Regions from separate parts of the Homo sapiens genome. Here regions 1, 2, 3, 4, 5 and 7 are each linked to region 6. The links are contacts of gene promoters, found by promoter capture Hi-C in blood cells and fetal thymus (Javierre and others, 2016). All regions are on one chromosome and are shown on one strand. Each heading gives the region's core, a stretch centred on a gene start or on the middle of the fragment in contact. The rest is flanking DNA. Distances are from core to core; before and after follow the strand shown.

Region 1 (3,915 bases), core at 1,209-3,708, 3.4 Mb before region 6:
TTTCCAGTCTTGAATCAGAATGTTTTCTCAGATAGCTTTATGTTAAGCATCACATACATTACATTCACTGAACCATATACAACATTTTCAGTAAATGCAGCTACAACTTTGTGAAACACACATATATTTCTTCCTCTGGTTATAACAGCTTTCAAAACCTCCACAAAGCAAATTCAGCCTTAACTATCCAAAACTACTTAATGAGTAAAATCCCATCTCAACTTTATTGGTTAATCACTGAAGATTCAAAGAAAGTTGCTCTTTTACTCTTGCATCCTAACTAGTTACCTATTCTGTCTCCCAAAACACAAAAATATCAAGAACTCAGATACTCAAACTACTTCCAAAGCAAACAGTTACAGAGCTGTGGCTTTCTTTTTAAATCATCTCACATTAAGAAATATATTTGCATTGCAATCCAATAAAAACACTTAGGAATGGGCCGGGTGCAGTGGCTCATGTCTGTAATCCCAGCACTTTGGGAGGCCGAGGTGGGCAGATCACGAGGTCAGGAGATCGAGACCATCCTGGCGAACACGGTGAAACCCCGTCTCTACTAAAAATACAAAAAGATTCGCCGGGCATGGTGGCAGGCGCCAGTAGTCCCAGCTACTCGGGAGGCTGAGGCAGGAGAATGGCGTGAACCCAAGAGGCAGAGCTTGCAGTGAGCTGAGATCACACCACTGCACTCCAGCCTGGGCAACAGAGCAAGACTCTGTCTCAAAAAAAAAAAAAAAAAAAAAAAAAAAAAAGACTACTTATGAATGTATACATGCATCCATATATACATAAATACACACACTTAAGCAAAAGTTTCACCAAGTACTTAACCTTGTATTTTGTGATACATAATTTCTTTTCTACTCTGGCCTACTTCATTTGCTTTAAGGCTAGTCAGACCCATTAAACTGATTTGAAAACTCCATTACGGGTCCAGACTCTGTTTGCAAACCATGGTATCTAATACGAATCTTTAAAATTCTCAGTTTCTAATAACCTTATTTCATAAATAGAGTTAGAAATAACAGTGGCTTAACGTGCCTGGGCTGAATATCAAGAACCTGATCCTTAAAATAAACTTGCTATACTAAGTTTTCTTCACATAAAATCAAATCACACTACCAAATAATTTCAGCATATAGGTTAGCATGTTGACTATATGCACTATTTGATTCCAACAATATCTAACACAATACAACTGTAATGCCAATCCTGTAAGGCAAAGGGGCTTAGATCTAAACCCAAAGATTGGCTTCAGGTAGTCAGTCACGTGGAACCTTCAAAACTAGATGCCAGTGTTTTATATATGTCTATATTTTCTACACTACAAATCTTCAGTGCTCAGATTCTCCGAAATGTTCTTTTTTTTTTTTTTTTTTTTTTTTAAAGACAAGATCTCACTCTGTCATCCAGGCTGCAGTGCAAGTGGTACCATCACAGCTCACTGCAGCCTCGACCTCCTAGGCTCAAGCAATCCTCCCGTCTCAGCCTCCCAAGTAGCTGGGACCACAGACACACGTCACCATGCCTGGCTAATTTTAGTATTTTTTGTAGAGACAGGGTTTCACCATGTTGTCCAGGCGAATGCCTGAGCTCAAGCAGTCTGCCCACCTCAGCCTCCCAAAGTGCTGGGATTACAGACGTGAGCCACCGTGTCCAGCCAGAAATGTTCTTATGCTCCCAAAAAGGTTCAGAATACCTTTGCTAGGAAGAAATCTTGATATTAGGTACTAACAGCTGTGGACAAACCTAAACGTGGGCAGGATTTACAAAGAGCCAGCATACACCAGGTATTATTCTAGCACCTGAATACTTTTTTCCCAAAATTCTTTGTTAGTCTGGCTACCACAAACCAACAACTTACAGCAAATACTTACAAAACATAAAAAGGAAAGGCTTTTTTTTTACCTACGGTAAGACAAGATTAGGTCTCGGATAGTCCAAAAAGGAAAGGTACCTCCTATTGTATCAGACTGCACAGAAAGTTGCTTTCTCCATTCTAACTTCTGGTAACCAAGTGTTTGCTTCCTGACTACTTAACTCAAAGTAACTTTAAGCATTTAACCCTTTCTTACACAGTACATAGGTGCTCATTAACCACTTTTTCAAAAGATGACAGGACAAAAGAGGTGCTTCTTGTGTTTTAATGCAGAACCAACATAAACAATGTGACTTATTTGATGTGATATCACTACTTGCATTAACAATAACATTTTCTAACTTGTAAGAAGGCATAATTTTGCCCCCATCACATGTTCACGTTTCAATACCTGAATGAAGAGAAGTGCCCTTCCTCTTACTGATTTATAAAATTTTTTTATAGAGACGGTGCCTCACTCTGTCACTCAAGCTGGAACGCAGTGGTGCAATCATGGATTGCTGCAGCATCAACCTCCTGAACTCAAGCAATCCTCTCATCTCAGCCTCCCAAGTAGTTGGGACTACAGGCACCTGCCACCATGCCTGGCTCCCTTCCTTTTATTAGGACTAACTAAACCATACTTATCTTAATGTTTGAGGTGAAGTTTCACAGCTGTCTTTTATCAACTGTTTGTATCCTCTAAACTCATTTTTGCATGTGTAAAATGAAACACTATTTCTGACCTTAAAAGGATTCAGATAAAGATCAATAGGTGAATACGCGGCAGCCATTTTCCTTGGTTAATATTTACTTTATTTAATTTGCTTCATGTAAGTGATTTAATCTTATTTTCAAACTAGTAACTTACAGCCTGATGCAGTGGCTCACGTCTGCAATCCTAACACTTTGGGAGGGTGAGGTGGGCAAATTGCTTGAGCCCAGGAGTTTGAGACCAGCCTGGGCAACATAGGAAGACTCCGTGTTTCTACAAATAGGAAAAATTAGCCTGGTGTGGGGGTATGTACCTGTGATCCCAGCTACTTGGGAGGCTGAGGTGGGAGGATTGCTTGAGTCTGGGAGGTCAAGGCTTCAGTGAGCCATGTTCGCGCTATCGCACTCCAGCCTGAGCAAGTGAGTAAGCCTTTGTCTCAAAAAAAAAAAAAAAAAAAAAAAAAAAAGGCCAGGCACAGTGGCTCACGCCTGTAATCCCAACACTTTGGGAGGCCTGAGGTCAGGAGTTCAAGACCAGCCTGGCCAACATGGTGAAACCCCGTCTCTACTAAAAATACAAAAATTAGCTGGGTGTGGTGACACGCGCCTGTAGTCCCAACTACTCGGGAGGCTGAGGCAGGAGAATCGCTTGAACCCGGGAGGTGAAAGTCGCAGTGAGCCGAGATCGCACCACTGCACTCCAGCCTAGCAACAGAGAGAGACTCCGTCTCAAATAACATAACATAAAAATAAATAAAACAAATACAAAAACAAAAAACACCTAATAATTTACTAGAGGTTTTTTTTTTGGGGGGGGGGGCGGTTGTTTTGTTTTTTTGAGACAGACTCTCACTGTCGCCCAGGCTGGAGTGCAGTGGCACAATCTCGGCTCACTGCAACCACCGCCTCCTGGGTTCAAGCTATTCTCATGCCTCAGCCACCTGAGCAGCTAGGATTACAGACGCGAGCCATCACGCCTGGCTAATTTTTGTATTTTTAGTAGATGGGGTTTCATTATGTTGGCCAAGCTGGTTTTGAACTTCTGGCCTGAAGTGATCCACCAGCCTCAGCCTCCCAAAGTGCTGGGATTACAGGCGTGAGCCACTGCAACCAGCCAATTTTGCTAGAATTTAGGCTCCTTCCCATGTCTTTAATTTATACTCTCAATGCAAGTATGGCCCAGCCAATTATTTTATAGCTGTTTATATCAAGTAATGGAATCTGGTATGTTTATCTTTATGAAGTTCAGTAAGAATGTTAATATTTCGCAACTGGATTGTTTTTATTCTCTGCTGTTCCCACATAAGCATACAAAATACTCAAGCGTTAAATGCTTTTAGTAA
Region 2 (4,085 bases), core at 847-3,346, 3.5 Mb before region 6:
TACAGGAAAAGTTCATTGGTCTCATTCCTGTTAGTATCACTTCTGGAGAGTGGTACTGGGGCTCCAAGTTAGTCCTATTTTAACGCTTAGATTTTTTAAATTGTGTTATTTTTATAAAGATGATGATGATAAAGGGATATTAATTAGAAGGGATTCCAAATTTTAGCCTGCCCAGTGTACTTCTGGGGACCCAACCAGCCCCCAGTAGAGAAAGACATGTGCCTCACTTCTAAGCCCGACATCTAAGGAAGCCACTTTGGCAGGCATTAACATCTTCGGTGGTCCCTAACCATCAGTGCTAAGGAAGTAGTGTCAAAGAAAACAAAAGAGCCAGGTAGATAAATGGCACCATCCTTCGACAGAACTGTAGGCCAAGTGTGCCTTCGGGAACCACAGGCCATCCTTGCCCCTTGAACCCTTGTAAGTCCTACGGGCTCACGCATGCCCCGCACGACCCACATGGCCCCAGCTCATATGGAAGAAAGCCTAGCAGAGTGGTCACTGGAACAGGGAAGGCATCTGGAGTCCAAAGCTTCTTCACAGCTCCTACAAACTCTCCACCACTTCTCATCCCACTTTCTTCCTGTAAAGTCAGCACTGCTGGCAGAAGAAATATCTCGGAGGCTTAGGCAAAACATTTGAGGAATAAAAGAGAAGTTGCTTTAGTCCCCTCAATTTACACAACCCTCTTAATTGCCTCCATGTCTGTGGTTGTTAGCCACTAATTATTAGGTGTTTCGTCTGTGTCAGCATTTTCATAAACTGTTCCTCTCCCTGGGACATGGTAAGTATTTCCTCAGGCTGACTTTGAGGCAGTGGACCAAAGCTGCAGCTGGAGAAAGCGGGCTGGGGTTGGGGAGGGCTTAATGGGATTTTGAGTCTGTGTGAGTGATTTTTAAGCTGTGAGTCAATTTGGTAGAAAGAGCACTGAACTGCAATCCACTGAAACAGTAATAATAATAATAGCTGCTTTTTGCTGTGCCAGGCACTGCCTAAGTCCTCTGTATCTTCTAATCCTCACCAAAAAACCTTAAATGAAGGACTTAGGGCTCAGAGAGAGTAAGTCACCCAGCCAGGAAGAGCTGTGTATCAGTTAGGGGAGTGAGTTTGGCTGCACATAACAGAACACACATAACAGTGGCTTGAACAAATCAAAAAGGGCTGTTTGTTTATTTTTTCTCTCATATGAGAAGTCTGGAAGTAGGCAGTCTGGGGACAGTGGGGATAGTATGGCAAATCCACACTGTCAGGAGAGGCCCATGGCCCTTCTAGTGTTTCCCTACTCTGTCCTTAAAATGTGGCCATAATGTCCCTCTTCCAGGCAGGAAGAAATATGGCAAAGACAAAAGGCACATACAGGGCCAGGTGTGGTGGCTTATACCTGCAATCCCAGCCACTCAGGAGACCAAGGTGGGAGGGTTGCTTGAGCCCAGGAGTTTGAGACCAGCCTGGACTGCATAGCAAGATCCCCTCTACAAAGAAATTTAAAAACAAAAAATTATCCAGGCATGGTGGTACGCCCCTATAGTCCCAGCTACTCAGGAGACTGAGGCAAGAGGATCACTTGAGCCCAGGAGCTGCAGGTTGCTGTGAACTATGATTGCACCACTGCACTGCAGGCTGGGCAACAGAGTGGGACTCTGTCTATAAAAACAAACAAACTGGCCAGGTGTGGTGGCTCATGCCTGTAATCCCAGCACTTTGGGAGGCTGAGGCCAGTGGATCACCTGAGGTCAGAAGTTCGAGACCAGCCTGGCAACATGGTGAAACCCTGTCTCTACGAAAAATACAAAAATCAGCCGGGCATGGTAACGGGTGCCTGTAATCCCAGCTACTTGGGAGGCTGAGGCAGGAGAATCGCTTGAACCCAGGAGGCGGAGGTTGCAGTGAGCCAAGATCGTGCCACTGCAATCCAGCCTGGGTGACAAAGTGAGACTGTCTAAAAACAAACAAACAAACATTCTCCTCCAGTGTGGCAAAAAGAATTTTTGAAATCAAATAAAAACAAACAAAAAGACACATACAGCTGAGTTTGCCCTCTGTTACAGAGATTTCCAGAAAGTCTCATCTCTCTGCTTCTACTGTGTTGTGTGGCCAGTTTTCTACAAATGCCTATTGTGTCACTGGTACTGTGCTAAGATTTTACATATATTGTTACATTTATTCCTCATAACAGCCTTATAGAGAAGGAATTACCAACCTCTGGGTTCTAGTTTATTCCCTGCTATGTGGCTAAAATGTCTTAGATAAATCACATTCCCTCTCTGGACCTCATTTGTTCATCTGCTTTATGAGGGATTGGACTAGATAAGGAGTTCCTAACTTGAGATCTACAAACCCCTAAAGGGACAATGGATAAAATTTAGAGGGAAGGGTCATGACTTTAGATAGGGGGAAAATTACATTCTTATCTTCACTAACTTTTTTTTTTTTTTGAGACAGAGTCTTGCACTGTCACCCAGGCTGGAGTGCAGTGGCCCAATCTCGGCTCACTGCAACCTCTGCCTCCCAGTTTTAAGCAATTCTCCTGCCTCAGCCTCCCAAGTAGCCAGGATTACAGATGACCACCACCCCGCCTGGCTAATTTTTGTATTTTCAGTAGAGATGGGGTTTCACCATGTTGGCCGGGCTGGCCTCAAACTCCCGACCTCAGGTGATCCTCCTGCCTCGGCCTCCCAAAGTGCTAGGATTACAGGCGTAAGCCACCGCGCCTGGCCTCTAACTTTTAACTGAAATTTAGTTTTTCCTTCTTTTATGAACTTAGCCAATAGAACATAGTAATATTAGCAGAGCTTTTGACTTTATCACCAAAAGAATATCAGATATTTCATAGCATATTACAGTTGTTTCAGATGACTTGAAATATTGAATATACTCATCACTACTTCAAAATTGTGGTAGTTATTACACCTGCTATACTTAATGTGTTAATAAAAAGGAGTGTGTGTGTAGACAAACAGAATATGTAGATACGTAGATATATATATCTTGCTAATTTTATTGTTAGTATTATAGGAACTGTATTTCAATATAATTTATTTCCTTCATATTCCAGTATATTTTGTTTTATGCATTTAAAAAAATTTCTCTGAGAAGCGATCCAGAGGCTTCAGCAGCCCACCAAAGGAGTTCATAGAACAAATGAGATGAAGAACTGGACAGAGATCTCTTTGTCCCTCCGGCTATAAATATAACTCTGTCATAAGCTATCGTGGTCTTCCTGATCAAGTCCTTTCAGCTCTCAATTTCCTCAGTTTCTCTTCGGTAAAATGGAAGTAATACTTGCTTTGTCTAGCTCAGAGCTGTTAGGGGAACCAAAGTAATCTTCATGTAAGCACACACGAATGCAGAGCTTACGCATTTTCAATTACACAGGATCGGCTTCTGTAGTGCTGAGTGAATGTTGAGTCTTACTATATTCTTCAACTTGAGACCTATTTCCCAGAGACGCTGATGTTTTTCTGTCACTTCCATGTAAGTGTCCTGCTACAACCATATATTATCTTTTTAGTGCCAGTTTAGGGCTGAATTCATATAAAATTCAATAATAAAGGGGGAACTGCATCTTAAGTGCACTTGGATGGAACTACTTACGAAAATAGAAGATAAAATGAGATTTCGCCAATGGGTCTTGTAGCTCCAATTATCTTAGGCTCTTTGAAAAGCTTGAGTCAATGTACTGTGATTTTAAGTTATAGATCAAACACAGTTCATTTTGTCTACAACTTCTAAACCGGGATAAATGGACAAAGGACAGAAAAATAAGGAAGGTTGGTTTGTCTTGTTCATAATCTGTGTCTTTGGATATCTGTGAATACTTATTAAATATTCATCTAAAAGTCAGCTTAGGTAGCCATAATTAATGTTTCAAATAGCCAAGTAAAGATCTACAAATATATTTTGTTTGTTTGTTTGTTTGTTTTTAGGACAGAGTCTTACTCTGTCACCCAGGCTGGGGTACAGTGGTGTGAACACAGCTGTATTAATCCGTTCTTGTACTGCTATAAAGAAATACCTTACACCCTCTACCTTTGTAGCAGGGGATCTTGCTATGTTGCCCAGGCTGGTCTCAAACTCCTAGGCTC
Region 3 (3,888 bases), core at 723-3,222, 3.4 Mb before region 6:
AAATGTTAACATGAAGGATGGGTTGGGTTGGAAGGATGGTGCTATGGTTTGAATGTTTTCCTCCAAAATTCATGTTGAACTTAATCCTCAATGTGTAGTATTAAGAGGTGGAGCCTTTAGAAGGTGATTAGAAGAATTAGTATCCTTATAAAGTATACCAATAAAAGACTTGAGGGAACCTGTTGGGCCCTTCTACTCCCCTTCCACAAAGTGAGGATGCAGAAAGAAGGCACCATATTGAAGCAAAGAACAAGCCCCTTACCAGACGCGAAATCTGCTGGTGCCTTGATCTTGGAATTTCCAGCCCCTAGAGCTGTGCAAAATAAATTTCTATTATTTATAAATTACTGAGTCTGTTATTTTGTTATAGCAACCTGACTAAGACAGGTGGAGAGGACTGCTTTAGATTGGCTGGTCAGGAAAGCCTCTCTGGAGAGGTGGCCTCTCAACAGAGACTTAGGGGAGGGTGGCACTGGGAGCAGCCAAATGTGTGACCGTCTGAGAGGGAAGCATTGCAGACAAAGAGAGCAGTTGAATAAAGCCCTAAAGTAACAACAAGTTTGGTGTTTTGGCATGTTCAAGGAATGGAAGAGCCGATGGCTGAAGCATGATGATTAAGGAAGAGAGTGGGCTGATAGTAGGCAAGGGTCTGATTATGGAATAGTTCCTAAGCCGTAGTAAAGAACTTGAAGTTTTTTCCAAGTGCAGAAGGAAACAGATGGATAATTTTAAGCCAGGGAGAGACGGAAGTTATTTACATTTTAATAAGAGAATTCAGTTCTTATACAGAGAATGGAGGGGTATGAGGATGGAGGAGGGACATGAATAGAACATTTGAGCCCAATTAGGCTCTAATGCAGTAGCCCAGTGAAGATGATAGTAGCTTGAACTGTGGATCTGAAGAGAAGTGTATGATTTTGGGATATATTTCAGAGGTAAAGCAGACCACACATTGCAGTGGATTCGATTGGCGGGATGGAGTGAGACGTTAGAATGATTCCTTGTCTTCAGCTACTGGATGGATGGTGTGGCCTTTATTAATATGAAGAAGATGAAGGAACTTTGAACTTATCCAGGTTCTGGTGATTTAATTCTTTCCTGCAAACAAACATTTTTTATTTGTAAGCCAAAATGCAGATTTAGTCATTTCAATGGGTTTGCTCCCTTTCACTAGTGGTTTGCAAATGGTATTCATTTACATGTACACATAAGGGATCCAAAAGTCTGTTGCTTGGTGAACATGGATTCAGAATGCCTGGTATCTGGGATTTTAAAACATTAGGCTCTGAAAGTTTTAAGGATTATTCTTTAAGGTCATTTTCTCTTTAGGAACCATTATCAAAGCTTAGAAGTTTCAGTTTAGAACAGATGTTATATTTCAGTCTCTTCCCTCTGTCATTTTTCCTAAATTCCACATTACTTAATCTTTTGGATTTCCATGTTTCTGCCACCCTATTGCACCATTTTCATAATCTAATTAATGTTGTGGCTGTGGATGTGTTTGCAGGGAATACTCTCGATTGCTTCCAAAAAGTTCTCAGTAACTTCTTCCATAGTGGCCTGCATAGTCCTGTTAACGTCATGAGCAACCTTTCTGATTTTGTTGTTTCCCTTTTCTTTCATTCTTTTTTTTTTTTTTTTTTTTTTTGAGATGGATATTCCCTCTCTGTTGCCCAAGCTGGAGTGCAGCGGTGCGATCTCTGCTCACTGCAACCTCCGCCTCCCGGATTCAAGCGATTCTCTCTCTGCCTCCCGAGTAGCTGGGGCTACAGGCGTGTGCCACCACACCCAGCTAATTTTTGTATTTTTACTAGAGACTGGGTTTCACCATATTGGCCAGGCTGGTCTCGAACTCACATCATGATCCACCCACCTCGGCCTCCCAAAGTTCTGGGATTATAGGCATGAGCCACTGTGCCCTGCCTCCTGCCTCCCTTTTCTTTCATTTCTTGTTTTCTTTTTGTTGTTGTTGTTTTCTGTTTGTTTATTTTGAGACAGAGTCTTGCCCTGTCGCCCAGACTGGAGTACAGTGGCATGATCTTGGTTCACTGCAACCTCTGCCTCCCAGGTTCAAGTGATTCTCCTGCCTCAGCCTCCCAAGTAGCTGGGATTACAGGTGCCCACCACCACACCCAGCTAATTTTTGTATTTTTAGTAGAGACGGAGTTTCACCATGTTGGCCAGGCTGGTCTCGAACTCCTGACCTCAAGTGATCCGCCCGCCCCAGCCTCCTTTTCTTTCATTTCTAATAGGCATCCTTTGGAACTAAGGTGGTCAGTTTTACCAACTTCTTAGAGTTACCACTGTTGAACTTAATGCTGTCTACAAACGATTAAATCAAATCCTAGAAGGAGCTTAGATTTCTGATCCCAAGTTTGTTTATTTTTATTTTTGTAGAGGCCCTTTCACTTGGCCTCCCAAAGTGCTGGGATTACAGGAATGAACCACCCTGCCTGGCCTGATGCTAAGTTTAAACCAGTGGAAATAAGGGTTGCTTGCTCTAAAACAGGGGTCGTCAACCCCCGGCCATGTACTGATACCAGTCTGTGGCCTGTAAGGAACCCAGCCACACAGCAGGAAGTGAGCAGCAGGCTAGTGAGCGAAGCTTCATCTGTATTTACAGCCACTTCCCATCGCTTGCATTACTGTCTGAGCTCCACCTCATGTCATATCCATGGTAGCATTAGATTCTCGTAGGCTTGTGAACCCTGTTGTGAATTGCACATGCAAGGGATCTGTGTTGCCTGCTCCTTACAAGAATCTAATGCCTGATAGTCTATCACTGTCTCTCATCACCCCCAGGTAGGACCGTCTAGTTGCAGGAAAACAAGCTTAGGGCTCCCACTGATTCTACATTATGGTGAATTGTATAACTATTTGATTATATATTACAGTTTAATAATTATAAAGTACACAATAAATGTAATGTGCTTGAATCATTATGAACACCCCCTTCCCCAAGACCCTAGTCCGTGGAAAAATAGTTCCCCACAAGAGCAGTCCCTGGTGCCAAAAAGGGTAGGGACCGCTGCTCTAAAACATTTGGAAGTTAGTGAGGTGTGTTTACATTATTTGCTGGCAGAAAAGTTAAAATGACGTTCAGTATTTCCTGTGTTTATTAAGAAAGGTCACTTTGTGTAGATCAGTGGTTTCCAGACTTTATTGTGTCTAAGCATCACAGGAAATGTATTAACCATGCACAGCCTGAGAAGTGTCTGACACCACACACCTGTGAGGCAACAACCAGGCATCTGTTTTGTTAGCAAGCCTCCCAGGTAATTTTGATATAGGAAGAACTGTGGCCACACCATGGGAAACAGATCCAGATGGACACAGATGACTAAGCTTCCAAAACAAGAAGTATTGACCTAACCCGTACATTGACTGCATCCAACATCGGAAGAACTGAATAGGAGGTTTTCTTTTACCTACATCCGTTGATCAAGGTCTAAAAACAACTTGTTGGGCCGAATTTAAGCAGTCCTGACATAGAAAATTTATTTCTGTTAAAGATTGAGTTTTGGGAAATAGAATTTTCTGATTTAAGAAACAAGGGACTATTTCCAAGATTAATTCCTCATAGATCAGTCATTTTTTTCCTCAGAAGGATAACACCTACTGAGAGGCAGGTTCTAACTGTGGCTTAGATCCAAAGATCCTCCCTCATGCCTCCCTAGAGGACCTGTAAAGGTGACTTGTGGAAAGAACAGATATGTCTTTATGTATGTAAAGCAAGTGATATCTGATTTCAAAGAAGACAAAACCAAAAGCTTATTTTTTTAATGATAAGGAATTCCCTTCAAAATAATTATAGAACTGATGTCCCTAGCCCTTCCAGTATTTGCATTCCAAGTGTAGTTTTCTTGTCCCACCTAGATAAGACTAAAG
Region 4 (4,026 bases), core at 1,065-3,564, 4.3 Mb before region 6:
AAACTTTCTTAAAATATTATGAGTTTTTTTTTTTTTTTTTGCAATTTTAAGCTCATCAGCTATCACTAGTGTTAGCATATTTTATGTGTGGCCCAAGACAATTATTTTCCTAATGTGGTCCAGGGAAGCCAAAAGATTGGACACCCTGATATACTTAATTACCAGGGTAATATTCCTAACACCATCACTTTTACTTGACAATTCTCCTGCTCTAAAAGTTATGAACCTGACATTCTTGGTCTTACACAATCTGGACCCAGTCTACTCTTCTATAACCATCTTCCACTTAATTTACAAATCTTTATTAAGGCACAGGTACTCCTACTTATCCCCTATTGCCTCTCTCATGCTGAATCAATCATGCCAAAAGCTAAGAAAACATGAGCATGCTTGGGACTAAAGAAACAGAACTGAGGATTTCCTACACATCCTAACTGCAAGGACAGTCCATCAAAAGCCAGAGATAAGTATTTTTATTTGCTCTTTATTTCTTAAAATAATTTCCCCAATTTTGTTAACCCCTACCTCAAATGACTTTAGAGGTATTTTAAAGGATATGTAATATAGTTACTAAGCATTTCCACTGATTGTAGCTGAAGGATTTTCTAATGTCTATTACATGAAACTTCTCCTTAAACTCTCTTTTAACGAAACTGTCATTTTCCTTTCCAGAACGGTCTTGTCTTTTCTTTCTCCTATATATCGCATATAAAATCAGCGGCCAAATCTTCTAGATCAAACATATTCATTTCATCCATTCCTTCAATTATCCAGTCATTCAATCAACATTATTATGTGTAAAGTATGACCCACTTGCATTCCTAGACATGGAAGATCCAAAATTAATGTGAATAATAATCTAGTGAAAAGATAAGCATGGACAAAAGTAATTATTAGACAAAATTGATGCTATAATAAATGAACATTGGAAGGGCTATGGTTAAGTGATTAAGCTTGACTTGGATCTCTAAAGGTGAATGGTTCTTTACCAGGCTAAGAAGAAAAGGAAACATTCTAGGAAAAGAGAACAGCAAGCATGAAAACCATAAAAGTGTAATTTTCAGGGGACAGTAAATTCTGTACGTTAGACTAGACTTTGATGTTAACAGAAAGATTGGGAGATGATGCTGAAAGAACTAGCAGCTAAAGCCTCAATATAAAGCCTAAATACAATAATCAAGAATTTAGACTTAGCTAATGGTTCTCAAATTCTTCAATATCTATTTAGGTGAGGTAAGAGAACAGAAACCAAAACAACAAAAGCACCATTGCTCATCTATACCCCATTTTTATATTCCAGTGGAAAAGTAACTCTGTGATAACAAAATATTTGTGTAAGAAAACTTTGAGAGACAATGAATACTAACTATGAGAGCAGTATGAATGAACCATCTGAACTACGATGTATATATAATCTAACAATTTAAAAAATGCAAGCCAAAAATACTATTGACACAAACATGCATCACAACTCACTCTACAGCATTAACCAAACAATCCATAACAAACTAAGTTGACAATGGCAAAGCTGTTAGTTTTTAAATTATACACAGTAATTTGTAATTAAAAAGCAAGACCAGTGGCATTTAAAAATGATGACCTAGGCCAGGTGTAGTAGTGCACACCTATAATCCCAGCTACTCGGGAGGCTGGGGTGGGAGGATCCCTTGAGCCCAAGAATTCAAGGTTACAGTGAGGTTATGATTGCCAGTCTGGGTGACAGAGCATGACCCTGTCTCTATAAAAAATAAGGGTTGGATGTGTTGGCTCACATCTGTAATCCCAGCACTTTGGGAGGCCAAAGCAGAAGATCACTTGAGCTTAGGAGTTCGAGACCAGCCTGGGTAACACGGCAAATTCCTGTCTCTACAAAAAAATACAAAAAATTAGCCAGGTGTGGTGGCACACAACTGTGGTCCCACCTACTGAGGAGGCTGAGGTGGGAGGATCACACGAGCCCAGAAGGTTGATGCTGCAGTGAGCTAAGATTGTACCACTGCACTCCAATCTGGGCGACAGTGAGACTCTATCTCTAAATAAATAAATAAATAAATAAATAAATAAATAAATAAAAGAAATAATGACCTACGGGAACAGACTCTGAGAACAGAAAAAATAAAAAATAAATCAAAATGATGACCTGCTTAAAACAACACTGATGAATCTAATAATTTCTGCTATTTAAACATTATGGTAGTTGTAGGGTAAACAGCAGGACCAGAGGTAAGATGAGAGCCTGGATTGTAACAGTAGCTTTGGGTATGGAGCTGCCAGTCAGCCATGAGATACATATTTAAATAGGTCTTAGTGGTTATCTGTGGGTGACTAGTTGAGAACAAGGAAGTGAAGATCTGATGTTTCTAGCTTGGGTAATCAAGAAGACAGCTTTGCTATTAAGACAGGAAACACAGCAGGAGAAAGACTTCTGAGGTGAGAAAAAGGTGATGAGTTCAGTGATTGACAACAAATTGAAATGTCCATAGGCTATTTAGGTGGAAATGTCTAAGAAGTAATTCAAAATGCATTCATTCAGGGCTGGGCACAGTGGCTAATATCTGTAATCCTAGCACTCTTGGAGGCTGAGGCAGGAGGATCACTTTAGGCCAGGAGTTTGAGACCAGTCTGGGTAACAAAACAAGACCTTGGTATATGCCTGTAGTACCAGCTACTCCAGCAGCTAAGGGTTACTTGAGCCCAGGAGTCTGAGACTGCAGTGAGCCATGATCACACCACTGCACTCCAACCTGCGCAAGAGTGAGACCCTGTCACGTACATACATACATATATATAAAATTCATTCATTATTGGGCACCAGCTAGGTGCTGGGAATACTGAGATAATAAACAACCCCCTTCTTACCTTAAAGGAGCTCACAATCTATTAACAGTTGGGAAAATAGATAAGCATATGGACCCTTAGAATGCAACATAATAATTGCTATGGTAGAGATGTGAACTGGTTCCATGGAATCACAGAGGAAGAACATCAACTCCAGACTACAGTGGTCAAAAAGCAATGTAAAGTGGAGACAGAGATCTGCAGCCCAAACTACGTTCGGTCACCCAAACAACAAAAGATTAAAATTAAACACAAATTGTGGGCAATATCAACACTTGAGAAGTCTAAAGAAAACAAATCAAAAGAATCAGAAGCAATGGTCAGGGAGTTAGGAGAAAAATCAGGAAAAAAAAAAAAAACACTTTCAAGAAAGAGGAAGTGGTAAACAGCTCCATAAACATAGAAAAGTCTGTAGAATTAGGACATAAATGAGGGTTGAATTTTACATTTTAAGTCACTAATGATTTTAGTGATGGTAGTTTCAAAAGGATTTTCGCATCCATTTCTTCCTTTCTAATTTCTACCTTGCCAGTTCTGGCTCTCATTACCTCTTGCCTAAAATCCTAACTGGTCTTCTTACCTCCAGTTTCTCCCCTCCCCAATCCATCATCCTATAAAACGCTGCCTAATCAATCTTAAAATGCAGCTCACCTGCTCTAAAATCCCCACTGACCCACCACGACCTATAGAATTAAGCACCATATCTACTGTATGTATTCAGGATTCTTCACAAAAGCCCTATTCTACCTTACCAATATTACTTCTACTCCTCCTTTCATATCCTACACTCCAAAAAACAGTGGGCAGTCACTTCTCTTTCAGCAGAACCCACCCTGGAAAGCTTCTAAGTTTGAAGACACAATTACATTCCATTAAATACAAACTTTATTGCTCCCTCCCTTAATTTTTAAGCTCCTTAATTACAATTAGAAGACATAAAGGGGGAAAAACTCCCACTTACGATAGCAATAAAAAAGATAAAATACCTAGAAACAATAAATGTCAGGAGGCTGCGGCAGGAGGATCACTTGAGCCCAGGAGTTCCAGGCCAGCCTGGGCAACACAGCAAGAACCCATCCTCCCCACCTGCCCCCAAAATTAGTAATAATGCAATCTAAATTTTAAAAAAAATCAAATGGGTTGCTTTGTTTTTGGAATGAGACCTAGACAATTTTGAGACAATTCTTA
Region 5 (3,950 bases), core at 396-2,895, 4.3 Mb before region 6:
AACTCCATCAAATGAGGCTGTTTTTCCATAAATGTCTATTTTATGATTACCTGATAGCCTCTATTTTCCTCTCCTTCATTTGCATTTCACTTAATGCTTTCTCTCCTTTAATTAATTTACACAGAATAAAATTAAATATTATTTGTTACATTTATTATGCTAGACTAAATTTTATGCTCTATGTTCTTAATTTTAAAATTGGACAAATATAAAAAGTATTAACTTCATCTGAAGCAGAAAAAGTTAACTTATAATTACATGGCCTTTGATGTCATTTTTAACTAAAAAATCTTGAGAGAAAAAAACAAAAGTCAAGTAAGTCAGACATCTCATATAGGAAAAATAAAAACATAAACTTGTTGAATTAACCTAAGCTAATACCAATTACCCATATCCATTTTCTGTCTCTAAATATTCCCTAAATATTTAGACAACAAATGCATGTAAAGAATATTACATGAGTTAATTTAAAGAATATTAAGAGGTTTCTTACTTGTCTCTAGATGCTCCCAGTGCCAAAACAATAGGATCTGCAATTTCTAACATAGACTGTAGGATAGAAGCTACGACAATGAAAAGGATAATACTGAGCAAGAATGCCCGATGAACAACCTGCAGTTCTATCAGCCCAGTCTGCACTGCCAGGATTAACAGCGTTACTCCTTCTGTCATGCCCCTAAAAAAAGCATACATTTTCAGAAAACATAAAATAATCTGAATCTCATTTAATTCAAAGAGAAAAATAATCCAAAGGCTTAGACTCTTGTTACATATTTTTAAATCTATTCTGACTTAATCCAGACTAAAAACCTGATCAGTATATTAACTTTGTAACATTAATGAAATAGTCATATATATCACTACATGTGCAAAGGCATAATAGCTATTACTTTACCACACAATGAGGGCAAAAATAATAACTTCTAAGACAAATAGAAGTTTTCCAACCAGATTCTGTAAATGAGCCAGATATTAACATCAAATACTGTATAGAAATCAGATTTTAACAGGGCTAAACTTCAAATGGGAAAAAGCACGCTTCTGAAAATCTCTTAAAGAAATCTAGGGAAGGAAGGTGCCCAATATTCATCATAATGTATTAATACATACAATACAAATACATCTTTAACATGGAAATGTATTTTTTCATAGTATTTTAACCCAAATGTTGCAACCATTCAAAAAAAACCTCTCCAATTCCATTTCTTCTAAAATTCATCAGCCAAAGAAATTCATCATTACTTCCTCAAGTTATCTATAGTATTTACATTTCTAGATATAATCAAGGAAAGAACTTACCGATTCATGGCAGGATCATTCATGAAAGCTCGATAACCCTGCAAGTAAAACTTGCAGAGTGTGAGAACACCCAAGGCAACAAAAGAAACCGTGAAGACCAAACCCAAAAGAGAGTAAGGAGTGCTGCAGCATTCCGCAATACTGGAAAAAAAGAGGGGGAAATTAACAGACATAAACTTTCCATTTGGAGTAAACACATTTGAGGCCTTTAAATAATCACCAAGCTTGATTTGATACTCATTAATTAAAACATCCTAAACCAAAATTTGAGGAGAAATCACCCAATTACTCCATTAATAATTTAACCATCTTATTCACCTTCAAACCCACATTTTTCTATCTCATTGGCAAATATGCAGTACATAGCACCAGATCTGAAACAAGGTCTTCAAATACAGTAAAATTCAAAGAGCCTAAATGTTCACATCTTAAGAAATATATAATTAGCATGCTGACAAGTATTCAAAAGAAGCTTGTACAGTTGCCCACTCTTCTTCCTGAAAAATGATGGCTGTTCAAATTGTTCACTGTGCTACATTATAATATGAATACTTGCTGCAACTCCTTATTTGACCAAACTGCTATGGAGCAGGGTGTATCACTCCTCCTACTCCATCAGTATCTTACATACTACTGCTATTTTTAAATTTAGGTTGAGACAAAGGCATTTTTTAAAAAAGGGTTACTTCAAAAGCATGCCCAATAATTTGCTCCAAGACTATTGAAAAGTAATTTTAATATTAATTTTTAACAAAAGTTTGCTATGATACTATTCATAAGGATAACTGGAAGACATTACACTAGAACTTGGAAATATTTTCATTGAACTTCTTAGATATTAACTTATATGTATTTTATAAATACATGTACTATTATGTACTGAGATAGATTTAGCATTTACACAATATCTATCTTATATATACGTATATTTATTTGAGACAGGGTCTTGCTCTGTTGCTAGGCTGAAGAGCACTGGTACAATCATAACTCACTGCAGCCTTGAACTTCAGGGCAAAAGCAATCCTCTCACTTCAGCCTCCCAAGTAGCTAAGACCGTAAGAGCGTGCCACTGCGCCTGGCTAATTTATTCTTTATACAGACAAGGTCTTGCTATGTTGCCCAAACTGGGCTAAAACTTTCTGCCTCAAGCGATCCTCCCACCTCGGCCTCCCAACGTATTGGGATTACAGGCTTGAGCTAATGCTCCCAGCCCTTATATAGTATCTACATCTTAAGCTTTAATTTTCAAAGAAGAATTTCACTGATATAGATGAGGAATTCATTCAGGCAATCAATGCTTGTCCCTTACTATGCAGCTCCATGCTTCTATATAGTTATCTTTCCTACACAATTGCTTATTAGTTGGTTTTTATGTGAAAGCATCTAATTTTACATGGTACCAATGTACACTATGATGAGAAAAAAAGTCTGGTTTTCTGTTAGGAGCCAAAATATCCACCAATCATGGTGGCTAATAACTAGAAAAAAATAATTAATTTTATGACATTCCTACAAATTTAATTTCTGAAATGTTTGGCATTTTCACACTGAAATCATTAGTAACAATTTTAAACAAATTGTGTACAATTTTACAACATGAGAATCATGGCTGAAAACCAACTAAAATTTTACTTCATTCTTATTGAAAAAGGCTGAAAATTTAACCAAAGGTCCATACTATTTCTCTATTTTTACGGACCTTTCTCCATATTTAGAAACATTTTTTACACCCACACAATATGATTTAATTACGTATTCAAACAGAGCACTTTCCTTTTCTCTTATTTTAGAAAAAAAAATGTGGTGCTATTTTTCAAAACAGAGCATACTAAATACCAAAGATTTCGACCTAGCTTTGGGGAAGTGAAAGAGTTTGGAAAATTTATAAAGTTTTTCTTTGCTCTCTCTTCATTCAGTAACTCATTTTTATTAAATCTTAATTTCTATTTTCTGGCTGCAAAAAAAACCTTTTTTTTGATTTGCAGTTTGATCTGGTGTGCTTTATTGTTGGTTGGTGTGTTTGTTTAGTCAGGGTATTCTGGTAAGCTCCCAATCTCTTTTTCTAAATAAGTTGTTTTTTTGGCAAAGAAACATAAACATTACCAGGCACACAAAAGCATGGATAAGAACAGAGAATAACTCTTACAGAGATATAAATTAACAAAAGAACCAATATGAGAACTTCTCAAAGCAAATTACAACATTCTTATCATGAAAAAAGGCAATCTATCCTGGCGAGGCATAGAAAAAGAAAAGAAAAAAATTATGTTAGCAAGATATCTAAACTTCACAGAATATCCGAATATTATTTTCTTACTTTGTAAATAAGTCCAAATGCATTCATGGCTTAGTAAATTGTTAAGCCTACTGCACTATGCTATACCTCATCTTACTGTGCTTTGCAGCGGGTAACAATCTGGTTTAAAGCACCACCAATTCAGTCTCACGCTGAGTTTATTATCCTAACCACAGAACTGTCTCTCTTTCTCTCTATATGCAGTTACTTTTTGGGTCATTTTAAAAGTCTTCAGGCCGGGCGTGGTGGTTCACACCTGTAATCCCAGGACTTTGAGAGGCTGAGGTGGGTGGATCACCTGAGGTCAGGAGTTCAAGATGAGCCTGGCCAACATGGTCTCTACTAATAATATAAA
Region 6 (3,595 bases), core at 522-3,021:
GGCAATCGGCATTAAAAAAACTTTACGTATTCCAGATTTGATAGATTAGTTGTGACTAACTGTTCACAAACTCATGTTTTTTAAAAAAATAAACAAAATATAAATTTAAAAGAGACTGCACCAGGCCCAGTAGCTCAGGCCTGTAATCCCAGGACTTTGGAGGCCAACGTGGATTGCTTGACCCCATGGGTTTGAGGCTGCTGTGAGCTACAATCTCACCCCTGCACCCCAGCATGGGAGACAGGGACCCTGTCTCAATAAATATATATTTTTTTTTAAAGAGAGAATGCCTAAACTCAAATCCATTTTAATTTGTTGCCAAATTTAAGTTATAGAAAGTGAAATTAAATGTCACTAGGAAAAGCCCACATTTTAAAATATGTCAAAATTAGTGAGAAAAAAATCCCACTGGTCTATACGTACATCAGAAATCCCAAATTCAGCAGCTACTGCTAAATTCCGAAAGTTACTGGATTTACTAATTTATAATCGTAATCTAAAACCATTGTTGAGGAAACTATGAATTGTACAATTCAGAAAAGTAACTGAGATCCAAGCTGACATAATGTCTTTCACACGAATCTTGAGGCACTCAAAGCACCTCCATATACTGTAATATATATAATAGCTAATAGCTAACATATAGTATGAACTTATTACATACCAGTGAATACTCCAAGCTCTTCATACACGTGAATACCATGTTAAGCTCAAAACAATCCCATGAGAAGGGTACTATAACTACCTTATCTTGTGGATAAGGAAGATATAGAGACACTGAACAATCTCTCGCCCAAGTTTACAAAACTAGGAAACAAGTAGTCTCCCTTCACCATATTACACTGCCATCAAACATCTTGGGCATCTAACCTGAGAACTAAATCTAATTTCAACCTGTTAGTTTAATTATACACTTAACAAAGAAAAAGCGGGTCCAGATCCAAAGAGCATTGGTGAAAAGAAATAAAAGGAGTACTACTTATTTTATGCACACACCTCTTCACCACCTGCTTGACCACTCCACAAACATGCAGGATTTTCAAGCTTTTAGATGAGAAAACTAATCACCTGACATCATCTCTAAATTCTCTGCCCGTTATTCTATCCCTATTTTCTTTGTTGTCCTTTCCTATATTTATCTATTTATGAATTACGCTTCCGTACAGGAGCTTAACCTCTCCACTGCAGGTACGTTATCTGTTGTCTTCCTGCCTGTCTTCAGTGCACGGAAGAAATATTTGTTCCTTTAGCAACCTAGTTAATCTGTTCCCAGCTGAAGCCCGTCAGAGAAGCAGAAGCAGCAGTCTTAGTTTGAAAACTAAACACGAAAATAGGCTCCTCAAATTTCCACAACTCAGCACCTGCCCTGAAGAGGCGGGGGCTCTGACCAGACCCAAACCTGGTCAGTGTTATCCTCTTTCTCTTTCTGCCAGCCACAGGAGCCGTCGGGACACCCAACAGTCGTTCAGGGAAACGGGGCTGGGGGCGTCTGGGAAGAGGAAACTGAACACAAGCCCCGAGCTGCCGCTACCTTGAGGATCTCGCGGCCGCCCACCGACAGCGCCACATGCCGGCTCTGGAGGCCGCACTGGATATCCTGGGCGCGCGTGCCTGGCGGCACCTGAACTTCAATGAACACCTCCTCCAAGGTCTGGTACCACTGGCCCCACGGGGTCCCGCACGGTACCACCCCACTCCGCTCCTCAAACGGGGCCGACATAATCCAGTCCCTCCCGGCCGCGGCCGCACCAGGCGGAGCCGAGCGCACGCGCGGAATCCCACGCTTAGGCTACGCCTCGGCCTCTCCGCTCGGGTCACTGCGCATGCGCAGGAACGCAAGCTAGCGCTTTGGTGTGCGTGTTCGTTTTTCCCTTTGAATGGCCGTTTACGGCACCGGCAGGCCCCGGATGAAAGAACTGAAATCCAGAAAAGTTCACATGCAACGAACAATGGGACAGAATTGGAACCAGTGAAGCCGGAACTCACTACACCGTCCCCTAAGTGACGCCAAAATGCACTTTCTAACGTCTCCGGAGGGAAGTGCGCTTGCGCAAATGCTAGGTTACACTTGAGTAACTCCGGGAATGACTGGGTGGGTGGGGCGGGGAACAGTAACGGTCTCCTATTGGATGGCAGCCTAAACTCGCAGGCCAGCTAATTGGACGCAATCAGAACCCAGCATTCTTTCTTCGTGTTCCTGTGCGGGATTGGTGTGCCCAGGGGTTTGGCTTTCCAATTGGCTAACGCCGGGGTGGGTGGGGAATGTGGGGAGATTTGAATTTGAAACCGGTAGGGAGTGATAATCCGCATTCAGTTGTCGAGGAGTGCCAGTCACCTTCAGTTTCTGGAGCTGGCCGTCAACATGTCCTTTCCTAAGGCGCCCTTGAAACGATTCAATGACCCTTCTGGTGCGTAAGGGGGAAAGAGCTGGGGGACGGGAGACGCCCTAACGCCCTTTGCCTCTTTCAGCTCCCTTCTTGGGAGGCAAGCAGGAGGCGATTTTAGGGTCGGGCTGGGGCTCATTCAGTTGATTGATTTTTCTCAAATATGCTCTAAGCATCTGTTACATGCCAAGCACTAATCAGGATGCTAAGGATACCGCAGTGAAACAGTCTCCGCCCCGTGGGGCTTACATTCAGGCGGGGAATACTGTCAATAAACAGCGGTAATGGAGAAACTACAGCAGGGCGAAGGGAATGGACCCGAGACGTTGGTAGCTACTTGATTTTCAAGTCCGAGAGGGCCTCACTGATAAGAACACTGGAGTATTACTTGTAGTCTGAACTTGTGCATTTCTTTTGTGTATTCCATTTGGGCATAAAAGAAGGAAGATTAGTAAAGGCAGTTTATGGGTGTAAAATTAGAGCAGCAGCACTTATTGAAAACATAAACAATGAAGTTATGGCTGATATTGACCACTTATACCTCAAGCACCGTACTAAGGCTTTACATCGATTATTAGTTATGTTAATTTCCCACCAACTCTAAGGGGTAATCCTATTATTATTTTATTGATAAAAAGACTGAGACTTAAATTTGCTCAGTGCTACATTACCAAAGTGACCGGACTGGAATATGAACCCAGCCCCCATCGTGTGCTCTTAACACCGCAATGCACAGCACAGTAACCAGGAAGCCTTAGCTGTGTTTGGTAGGCACTCATCATTTAAGATGCTGTATGCGGCCGGGCGCGGCGGCTCACGCCTGTAATCCCAGCACTTTGGGAGGCCGAGGCAGGTGGATCACGAGGTCAGGAGATCGAGACCACCGTGAAACCCCGTCTGTACTAAAAATACAAAAAAAATTAGCCAGGCGCGGTGGCGGGCGCCTGTAGTCCCAGCTGACTACAGGCTGAGGCAGGAGAATGGCGTGAACCCGGGAGGCGGAGCTTGCGATGAGCCGAGATCGCGCCACTGCACTCCAGCCTGGGCGACAGAGCAAGACTCTGTCTTACAGAAAAAAAAAAAATGCTGTATGCTGGGACTGTGCTACTAGATCTTGTTTATTCCTTCCAAAAGCCAAGTGAGGAAGGTACTGATATTGACCTCATTTTACAGATGAGAAAACAGAGGTTTTGTATCTTGCACAATCAGTA
Region 7 (3,748 bases), core at 317-2,816, 4.2 Mb before region 6:
AGTTAATTTAACTATAGGACATGAGTACATTATAGTGTAAGAATAAAAATGACTAATTTTCCCAATGACCCCACCTTGATTTGAAGTTTTTCCTTCTGATTTTTTTTTTTTTTAACTAGGCACATATCTTTAGGGTCTCGCTGTGTTGCCCAGACTGGTTTTGAACTCCTGGGCTCAAGTGATCCTCCTGCCTTGGCCTCCCAAAGTGCTGGATTACAGGCATAAGCCAATGTGCCCAGCCTTTCCTTCTGATCTTTGCTGTGAAATTCTTGATGCTTCAGAATATTTTTCTTTTCTCCTTTTTTCCTGACTCCAGTTTTAAAATACTTGGAAAAAGGTGTTTAAAACAAAATCACAGTGATATAGTTCTCTGGAAATAAAGGCAACTTGAATTACTTAAGGAAAAATTAATATGTGGACTAAAGCCAGTGACATTGAAATTGTGGTCTGCGGACCATTTCAAGAATGTACAGGTCTGTGATAAGATACTGAGTTTGTTCCAAGAAGTAAATATACTGTAATCGTAAGCACACTATTCAGTTCAATTAACGTTTTTTGGTAGCAAGATTTTCTTGGAAAATGAAGCAATGCATTGATTTACATCCCTCCTCCCCACAAATATTTAAAGTTGCCTCTTGGCAATGTCATAAGCAGAGAAGAGTTATCCTGACTGAATTAAATGAAGTCCCATCAAGTAAAGGTGCTACATTTCATTGTACTAGGTCTTTGAGAGAAATTATGTTAGTTGTTGCAGTCTGTAAATTCATTTTGTATTTTTCCTTATAATCAGAGTACTTCCGTTGTTTGTGATATGTGAGTTCCATGTGAGTTCACAGCTGTTAAGATTAAAATTATTGTCAAAATATATAATTTTCTGGTTTAGTAAGATAAGGTGAAGAAAGCTTGCTGGTTTGTTTAGCAACTTTGACATCTAAGATGATATTTGAGAAAAAAGTTTATCCTTTAAATGTTATTAAACTAGACTTATAAAATTTGAGAACCTTTTACAATAGTATATTTAAATTATTTTTATAAACTGTGATATTTTGTGGTAGTTCATTGAAAAGAGTACTTCACTTTGGAGCTAAATAGACTAGGATTTTAATTCTGGCTCTGTTCTTACTGTGTGACACTGGACAGGTCACTTAATCTTTCTGAGCCTTAGTTCCCTCACTTGAGAAATGAAGATATCTAAATACATATTACAGGTTAGTTGTAAGAATAGAAGTATCAATATAGCAACTAGTACTATGTCTGACATATAGTTACTTAATAATTAGAAACTTTTTATTAGCTGTGGGTCTTTTTGTTTTTCGTCTGATAATTACAGATACAAAGTAAGTACCGGATTAAAATTTTTTTCTATCTTATGATTATTTTCATTGGAGATACAATAGTCTTTAAAATTTTAGCTCAACTGACCAGTTTTGTACGTGTAAGGTGATTCTTCTGTTTTTTTGTATGTGTGCATGCTGAAGATTTTTTATTTTGAGAACTCAGGTTCCTCTTTTGCTTTTAAAAATCACACACACACACACACACACACACACACACACACTTCAAATAATTAAATTGCTTTTTCTCTTTTTAAACATTTTACTTGGTTATACCTGTATAGTTTAGTCCAGTAAACCAGGAGAGCACATAAAGATGAGGATTTAATTTTAGTATTAATGATCTCAAAGCTGGTTAATGTCTGACAATGAGCAGATACATGATGCAGGTATACTTCATGAATTTGTCTCATTTCTTGTTAGAAGCTGCTAGACTCAGTGAGCTTTAATTTGCTGAGACTGACAAAATGCAGATTTTCACTGAACCTGACTAGCTGGTTTTCAACATAAACTTTTGACACATAACAATATGCTTATATTGACACTATGTATACCTGTGCATTGCCTAGAAGTAGGAACATGGAAAAAAGTGATCCAGGCACCCAAGTTTAAGTTTGGAATTGATAGAGTGTCAGGGCTGATTTAAAAAGAGAGTTTAGGTCTTGATTTATAAATTTCCTAGGTTCAGAGTTCTTTTGAGCATGGATTACCTGTATCTTACAGATAAAAGTTGTTTAAAATTTATTCTGTCTTGAAGACACACTGCAGTAAGTTTACTTTTATCAATATTTAAAAGAAAATTACCATAAGTATGCTAGGGACTGTTAATTCTGATGCATTTAAACTTTTAGTTTTGCTTAGAAAACTTACTTATACAGATTTTTTTTAAAGAAATTCAAGCTTTTCATATGTATTGTATTATCATTCCTCGTGTTTTAGCTGCAACAAATATGAAGTGGATTGAAGCTAAAATGAAAGTAAGTGTTAGAAAGCAATCCATTTAAAAATATTTTCAAACTGCATTTGTCTTGTTAAAAGTTCTAGAACTGAATTAATTTTATTCTTACTGGAGGGCACTTAGTAGATAGATAAATGCCATTATTGGGAGTAGAGGTGTTTTTAAAGTGTGTTTAATAAGTGGATTGTACTGAATCCCTAAGTCTTTTTTAAGAAAAAGTATAACTAAGCTTGTCCCCTCCCCCACATTCTTCCTCATTTTACAATAATACTTTATTTTCCTTCTTTTGCTCTAGTGTGCAATACTTAAAGAGTCAGTATTCTCCTAAAATGGTAAATTAGGAAGTAATCTATTTCTATTTTCCTTGGTTTACCATTTATTGACTTGGCTAAGTGAAACTAAAATACTTCCTAGTTGTTTAGCAAGATGTAGTGGCCAGTGGTGTAGAAAGTTGGCATTATGAGAAATTGCAGCTAGAATATTCAGAAAATCTGAAATTTTCCACACTACTATGTTTTAACCTCACAAATATTTGTGTTTATAGGAGCTGGGAGTGAGCACAAATGCAAATTATAAGATTACTTTCATGTTGGATAGTGCTGCTATGATAACAGTACATACTCCAAGGAGAGGATTAATAGACGTAAGAAGTCATTTTATTTCTATTTAATGACACCATGGTTATTTTCCAGTGTACTTTTTATGTTTATACCTATGGAGTAAATAGTGTAGAGATTCATCTGAGTGAATAATAAAGTGGTTGAGTTTTGACATAGGAAAATGTATTTAAGGTTAAAAGATTTTTTTTTTTTTTTTTTTTTTTTTTTGAGATGGAGTCTCATTGTGCCGCCCAGGCTGGAGTGCAGTGGTGCAATCTCGCTCACGCAAGCTCCGCCTCCCAGGTTCACGCCATTCTCCTGCCTCAGCCTCCTGAGTAGCTGGGACTACAGGCACCCGCCACCACGCCCGGCTAATTTTTTCGTATTTTCAGTAGAGACGGAGTTTCACTGTTGTTAGCCAGGATGGTCTCGATCTCCTGACCTCGTGATCCGCCTGCCTCGGCCTCCCAAAGTGCTGGGATTATGGGCGTGAGCCACTGTGCCCAGCCAAGGTTAAAAGATTTGAATTTTAATGATAAAATTAGGGATCTTGAAGTAGGACTGTCAAGAAAGGAACTTGTGATTGTGGGTAATTGACCTGTGTTGATGACAGCACAATGTTACTGGGCAGAGTAGGTGAGAAAAATACTGAATATTATCAAGGAAGATACTAGAAACAAGCGAAAACACTCACCCTGCCCTGTTTGAAACTGGTAATAAAAGCAGATGCATCATGATGCATGTACTTTGGGATGATGCTGAAGAATAGCAACAAGAACAATCAGAGAAAAGGGTTTGGCTAACCAGTTATTTTACTCATCAAGTAACTACTCATACTATTAAGTATCTACTGTCTG

The links. The method cuts DNA at HindIII sites, captures the fragments that hold promoters and counts their contacts. A CHiCAGO score of 5 or more calls a contact.
Region 1: a contact is called between a fragment that was not itself captured here and the fragment with the promoter of NUDCD2 in region 6, in 2 of 17 cell types (naive CD8 T cells and total CD4 T cells). The highest score is 6.2, in naive CD8 T cells.
Region 2: a contact is called between a fragment that was not itself captured here and the fragment with the promoter of NUDCD2 in region 6, in 2 of 17 cell types (total CD4 T cells and naive CD8 T cells). The highest score is 6.2, in total CD4 T cells.
Region 3: a fragment that was not itself captured here is called in contact with the fragment with the promoter of NUDCD2 in region 6 in 3 of 17 cell types (total CD8 T cells, activated CD4 T cells and naive CD8 T cells); the score reaches 7.0 in total CD8 T cells.
Region 4: a fragment that was not itself captured here is called in contact with the fragment with the promoter of NUDCD2 in region 6 in 2 of 17 cell types (naive CD8 T cells and total CD8 T cells); the score reaches 9.6 in naive CD8 T cells.
Region 5: a fragment that was not itself captured here is called in contact with the fragment with the promoter of NUDCD2 in region 6 in 1 of 17 cell types (naive CD8 T cells); the score reaches 6.3 in naive CD8 T cells.
Region 7: a contact is called between a fragment that was not itself captured here and the fragment with the promoter of NUDCD2 in region 6, in 1 of 17 cell types (total CD8 T cells). The highest score is 10.6, in total CD8 T cells.

Annotation. Positions count from the first base shown.
Region 1 is chr5:160,094,326-160,098,240 of GRCh38, forward strand. All of the region lies in intron 1 of PWWP2A (PWWP domain containing 2A), which reads right to left. Among named protein-coding and RNA genes, the nearest start is that of PWWP2A, 23 kb to the right of the region's middle. The HindIII fragment of the contact is 7,889 bases long and covers 1-3,915 here.
Region 2 is chr5:159,995,300-159,999,384 of GRCh38, forward strand. No RefSeq gene overlaps it. Among named protein-coding and RNA genes, the nearest start is that of TTC1, 12 kb to the right of the region's middle. The HindIII fragment of the contact is 3,133 bases long and covers 531-3,663 here.
Region 3 is chr5:160,017,956-160,021,843 of GRCh38, forward strand. The region is part of intron 2 of TTC1 (tetratricopeptide repeat domain 1); the gene reads left to right. It overlaps LOC124901124 (a long non-coding RNA gene), which reads left to right. Exons shown (of 2, transcript XR_007059025.1): 1 at 1-1,076. Among named protein-coding and RNA genes, the nearest start is that of TTC1, 11 kb to the left of the region's middle. The HindIII fragment of the contact is 1,261 bases long and covers 1,343-2,603 here.
Region 4 is chr5:159,196,207-159,200,232 of GRCh38, forward strand. All of the region lies in intron 2 of RNF145 (ring finger protein 145), which reads right to left. Among named protein-coding and RNA genes, the nearest start is that of RNF145, 11 kb to the right of the region's middle. The HindIII fragment of the contact is 2,726 bases long and covers 952-3,677 here.
Region 5 is chr5:159,168,380-159,172,329 of GRCh38, forward strand. RNF145 (ring finger protein 145) reads right to left here. Exons shown (of 11, transcript NM_001199383.2): 7 at 1,300-1,440; 8 at 494-676. Among named protein-coding and RNA genes, the nearest start is that of RNF145, 39 kb to the right of the region's middle. The HindIII fragment of the contact is 248 bases long and covers 1,522-1,769 here.
Region 6 is chr5:163,458,331-163,461,925 of GRCh38, forward strand. It overlaps NUDCD2 (NudC domain containing 2), which reads right to left and starts at 1,772. Exons shown (of 4, transcript NM_145266.6): 1 at 1,532-1,772. The coding sequence starts at 1,720. HMMR (hyaluronan mediated motility receptor) reads left to right here and starts at 2,302. Exons shown (of 18, transcript NM_001142556.2): 1 at 2,302-2,408. The coding sequence starts at 2,363. RefSeq lists enhancers at 1,489-1,738, 2,489-2,548 and a silencer at 2,069-2,158. The HindIII fragment of the contact is 3,644 bases long and covers 1,043-3,595 here.
Region 7 is chr5:159,272,312-159,276,059 of GRCh38, forward strand. UBLCP1 (ubiquitin like domain containing CTD phosphatase 1) reads left to right here. Exons shown (of 11, transcript NM_145049.5): 7 at 2,274-2,311; 8 at 2,837-2,935. Among named protein-coding and RNA genes, the nearest start is that of UBLCP1, 11 kb to the left of the region's middle. The HindIII fragment of the contact is 1,332 bases long and covers 901-2,232 here.